Regions from separate parts of the Homo sapiens genome. Here region 2 is linked to region 1. The links are contacts of gene promoters, found by promoter capture Hi-C in human tissues and cell types (Jung and others, 2019). All regions are on one chromosome and are shown on one strand. The core of a region is centred on a gene start or on the middle of the fragment in contact, and the rest is flanking DNA. Distances in the headings are between cores, read along the strand shown.

Region 1 (2,753 bases), core at 96-2,595:
TGCCATGATTTATTTATATGAATTGGTATGGATATACTACCAAGTATTTATCCATTGTATTGTCGATGGTCATCTGGGTTGTTTCCAGTTTGAGGCTTTTACAAATAATGCTGCTAGAAATATTCTTGCCCGTGCTTTTTTATGCTTATGGGTATGCATCTTCTTTATGGCTTGGTGATACCAGCGTCAGGAAGATGTGCTCCTATGTTAGTTTCCCTAAGTTTCACGCTACTATGGAAAGAGACCACCATTTCTGCTGTCCTTCCCAGCTTCTCCCCCACCTCCCCTTTTCCCTAGTTTATAAGACAGGAGAAAAGAGAGAAAGCAAAAAGTTGGAAAAAAACAGAAGTAAGATAAATAGCTAGACGACCTTGGCGCCACCACCTGGCCCTGGTGGTTAAAATAATAATAATAATATTAACCCCTGACCAAAACTACTGGCGTTATCCGTAAATTCCAGACATCGTATGAGAAAGCACTGTAAAACTTCTTGTTCTGTTAGCTGATGTATGTAGCCCCCAGTCACGTTCCTCACGCTTACTTGATCTATCATGACCCTTTCACGTAGACAGACCCCTTAGCGTTGTAAGCCCTTAAAATGGCTAGGAATTTCTTTTTCAGGGAGCTCGGCTCTTAAGACGCGAGTCTGCCGACGCTCCCGGCCGAATAAAAACCTCTTCCTTCTTTAATCCGGTGTCTGAGGAGTTTTGTCTGCGGCTCCTCCTGCTACACTACCTTTCGCACTTAGAGATACAATTGATCTGGAGTTCAGAGCTGTGTGTGATGGGAGGTAGGGGGCCAAGTTCCCTTTTTTCTTTTCCCTACGTGGATATCCCTTTGACCGAGCACCATTAACCAAAAATAGTTCCTTCCTGTGCTCTGCAGCCCCGCCTCTGAAATAAATTGTCCATACACGTGTATTTTTGTTTCTGGTCTCTATCTTATGTTCCACTGGTCTTCCTACTTTGCTTTTCTTTTTCAAGATTTTTTTCTGGCTGTTCTTGACCCTCTGAGTTTCTACATAGTCTTCAGGCCCCTATCTGGGTGCACTTCCTGGTATCCCAGCATCTGACATGTGCCTGGCGCGCAGCAGGAACTCACGGCTGGCTGTAGCCTGGATGCATCAGAGACGATGGCAAACCCTTCTCACACGTGCCAGGTTCCAGCAACCCACCCTAGCCCCGCAATTCCTCCTCGCTCACTCCCACCCCCTGCAGCGCACCCGCAAACGGCAAGGAGGCGTGCCCGCCGCGGCGCGCGTCACTTTCCCCCGGACCGACTGGCTCCGCCGCGGCTCTCCCCGCCCCCGCCTCCGCCTCCACGTCTTGGGGCCGGGCCGGAAGGCAGATCTCACCGCCTGCTTCCCTCTGCAGCGGTAGCACAAGCTCAGCGATGGCGGCTCCAGAAGGCAGCGGTCTAGGCGAGGACGCCCGGCTGGACCAGGAGACCGCCCAGTGGCTGCGCTGGGACAAGGTGAGGGGCACCAGCAGGCGGGGAGCGCCTGGAGCGGGGCCGGGTGCTCTGCCCTCTCCAGGCGCGGCGCTGCTTGCTCTGCCTGAGCTGCCTTCCCGCCCAGTGCATCCCGCTTCTCCCCCGGGAAGACCCAGGAGCGTACGGCCGCTGCTAGGCTTCCTTCGACCTGGCCGGCATGCGGCACGTTCAGAGTTAGGCCGGGAAGGCTTGTCCCCGGACGAAACCAGCCATCCGGCCGGCCGGACTGCAAGTTCGGAGTAGAGGAGCGAGCCAGGGTGGTGTAAGCGCGGCCAGACCCTGGACGCTGTCTAGTTGAGGGGCGCACGCCTTACTGTCACTCAGACCGCTGGCTCGTCGTCGGTAGTCGGCTGTGCATCCCCATGGACCCAGAATCGCTCCGTCCCGCGTATTCCTTTGGCCGCTGAGACCTTTGCAGAGCAGCGTTCTGGTCCGGTCCTCCCATCCCGAGGGCTTGGTTACAAACGTGGGTTGTCCTCCCGGGTGGGCCCGCCTGGCTTCAGGAGTCCCCCTTAGAACTTTGACTGCCAGGGAGGCACACCTGGGACACAGCACGGTTTTCTCTCTCTTCATTCCGTTTCTTAGAATCAGGAACCCAGCTCTGGACATCACTCCCTCTCCTCTCTATAAACTTGCGTCTCGCCCTTTCGACCTGTTCTGCTTGCTGTTAGGTTTTCTCGGAATGTCCCTCGCTGCTCTCCTGCTGAACTTGTTTCTCCCGTTGTGACTCATATTTTGTGCCTGAACTTAAATGTGGCTTACGTAGAGAGTCAGTCCTTCCTTGGCTCCGAAGCGTTAAATTATTTATCCCTAATATTCACTCTAAACAGTCTGTTATTTTCCTTTATAGCTCTTACTACAAATGGTAAAAACAAAAAACTCCAAAAACACTTGTTTGTAGGTTTGTTTAATGTCTGTCTCCAGGGCCGACTTCAGGGGCGAGAGACCCCTGCAGTCTCACAGGACTCGCGCTCCTTGAAGGGCCCACTGTTGTTTTAATGTCCTGCTGTCCTGTCTTGAAAGTCTTACTGGTAAAACAAGAGGTCACCCACTTTCATTGTGCACTGGACCTCCATAAATTATGTGGCCAGGCCTCTCTATTCTCACTACCTTGGTTTGTAGTGCCTGGCATAGGCATAGTGCATGACACATAGTAGGTCACTGAAATACTTGAATGAACAAAGAAGATTACAAGGTCAGTAGGGGTCAGGTCTTTGTCTTTATTTACCATTCTCTGGCCCCTACAAATAAAATGTCAGCAA
Region 2 (2,753 bases), core at 78-2,577, 260 kb after region 1:
AGAAGCCCTGTATTCTGCACTTGAGAGAGCCAGATACTGGGCAGATAGGAGGTGGTGTGCACGTTGCTTTTTGTCTTTCTCGATCATGGCATTGATTCTGTTCATAACAATGATGCAATGTCATCCTCTTCCCCACACATTTGTGTGCAGATAGAAAGAATGCAACAGCACAGAGTTGTTGGGGAATAATTTGGCATCTAAAATATCGACATACCAGCATAGATCATATTTATGACTCTGTTGGGAGTGTCACAGCAATGATTTAATAGGAGGCAGTTGTCTCCAAGGCCTCCTGAATTATGACTGGTTTTAAAATTCTTAGAACCCATTGGAGGCTATTGTTTCTGAAAGGCTACATAATTTAAGTGCTCCACATCCGTCATTATAGGAGATGTCAGAATAGTAAAATCTAATCCTGGACTAAGTTGTTATCGCAGCCCTTTGGTTTGGTGGCTTTGCCGACTTTATAAATATGCCTGTCAGTGCCTGTGGTCTCTACAGTTGGGCAGTCGGCGGTGAATATCATTTCTCACATTTTACACTGGGGGACTGGAACCCAGAAGGCATATGTTTTCCCAAGAGGCACCAACACAGTTGGCCCATGAGGTAGAGCAGCCCCTCCTTCGGCTCAGCCTCCGCTGCACTGAGCCAAGCCAAGCTTCCTACACTGGCCTCTGTGCAGCTGTCTCTCAGCAAGAATGCAAGTCGGGGAGAGAAGCCGGATCCCTGGGATTGTTCTAGAGAGTAGAAACCTCAGAGTAGCCCTCCTTAGACCACCTAACGCATTGCATCGCTGCATACATGTAAGGGACTCAATGCTGGTAGGATTGGCTTAGGAATGATGCAAGTGAAAACAGTGCCCCGGTTTATCATTAGAACAAGGTTCTTAGCTGACAGTTGCCTCAGACTTTGATTTTGTTCTCCTTGACCTGCCACTCCACTCGAGTCCACATCTCTCAAGACTGCACACGCCTGAAGGAGGACTGATTACAAACCAAAGCCTTGTGCCCAGTCTGGATCTTTTTGCATTGTTGAGAAAGCAGCTTACTTTCTTTGGACTGATTCAGCAGGCCAAATTTAGAACAAAGATTTTTAACTATCTCCCTTTATAAATTACTGAGCTATTTTGTAGCCAGGCTACTCTTAATATGAACAAAAAATATTATACAAATTTGTTGTTAATCGTAAACTATAAAAAAATCAGTAATTGTTACCACGTGAAATGAATTTGGATAAAAGAGATACGTTTTTGCCCCTTCCCAGGGTTTAGGAGAGACGAAATGGTGAGATTTTAGCTCTGAATCAGAGGTTCTTATTAGAGGTGGTTTTGTTCCTCCTGACCCCTAGGGGATATTTAGCAATGCCTAGAGGCATTGATGGTGGGCAGATGCTACTATGCCCTCTGCTAAACATTCTACAGTGTATAAAACTGTTCCTCCTGACAAAGAATCATCCAGCCCCAAAATGTCAGTAGTGCTGAGGTTGAGAAACCCTCCTTTAAACTCTTGGGTTTATTTGCTGACCTTTACAGTGGATCAGCTTTTATTTAGTTCATGTAGAGGTGAAATTAATACTAGTGCTCAAATATGTCTTTGTATTCTGGACTTGGCCTGGATCCCCCGACCAAATTTGGGACAAGCTCCTGCCATGTGTTGAGGACCTGAATTCAGGCAGCTAACAACAGTATTTGAACTGTGTTTTCAGTGGTGGGAGTGAAGGAGATGAGCCGACGTGCTAGCAAGCGCATAGGGTTGCATGAGGAAATAGAGAGTAAAGCTGCAGCGTGGAGCCCTGCTATTCAGAGTGTGCTTGGAGAAACAGCAGTGGAGGCATTACTGGGGAGCTTGATGGAAATGCTCCCCTCAGACTTGCTGAATCAAAATCTTTAATTTAGCAAGATCCCCAGTGAGGCTTGTGCATGTAGAAGTTAGAGAAGCACGGGGTAAACTCTTCTTTTTTTTACTTTGGAGGAAAATACACCTTTTTTCTTATTATGGCTCTGACCCTTACTAGCTGTGTGACCTTGGCCAAGTTATAAAACCTCACTGCACCTTATTTGTTTTAGCTGGAAAATGGAGATCATAATATCACCTGTCCTATGAGATTGTTGTAAGAATCAAACAAGCTTATTTATGCCAAGAACCCATATGGTAAAAGCTCAACAAACTGTCACTAGTGATAATAAGAAAAAGATCACAAAAGTAGAAAACATTAGGGAGACAGCTTAGGTCTTAAATCTCACAGTTGTCGTCCCCAAACAATACTTGTATTTTTGCAGATCCAGTTTCTCTGAATACTAAAATAAAACCGGAGTTTCATAAACTTCTATAGACAGTGGTCCTTGTCAGTAGCCCAAGTGGCAGAGAGTACATGGATCTGGGGACAAACAGCCTCTACTGTTAGGAATGTTCCATCCTCCTGGCCTGAGTTACACCTGCTCATTGTGATTCCGAATTTGAAAGGAACACAGTAGGAATTTTCAAGACCCTGGGAAGAGGAAGGCTGTGGTAAACAGGAAGGATGAGATTAGAAGAAGGAGTTTAGGTGAGGTGAGCCCTTGTTTTACTAGTAGGGTTTAAGAATATCCAAGTCAGCTGGACATGGTGGCTCACACCTGTAATTCTAGCACTTTGGGAGGCCGAGGTGGGCAGATCACCTGAGGTCAGGAGTTCGAGACCAGTCTGGCCAACATGGTGAAACCCCGTCTCAACTGAAAATACAGAAATTAGCAGGGCATGGTGGCGCATGCCTGT

The links. The method cuts DNA at HindIII sites, captures the fragments that hold promoters and counts their contacts. A contact is called where the count stands out against the background at its distance.
Region 2: a contact is called between a fragment that was not itself captured here and the fragment with the promoter of PGM2 in region 1, in 1 of the 25 tissues and cell types used here (spleen).

What each region holds. Positions count from the first base shown.
Region 1 is chr4:37,825,341-37,828,093 of GRCh38, forward strand. PGM2 (phosphoglucomutase 2) reads left to right here and starts at 1,346. Exons shown (of 14, transcript NM_018290.4): 1 at 1,346-1,473. The coding sequence starts at 1,393. RefSeq lists enhancers at 1,017-1,518, 1,519-2,018 and a silencer at 1,229-1,528. The HindIII fragment of the contact is 14,611 bases long and covers 1-2,753 here.
Region 2 is chr4:38,084,968-38,087,720 of GRCh38, forward strand. All of the region lies in intron 14 of TBC1D1 (TBC1 domain family member 1), which reads left to right. Among named protein-coding and RNA genes, the nearest start is that of PTTG2, 130 kb to the left of the region's middle. The HindIII fragment of the contact is 4,877 bases long and covers 1-2,753 here.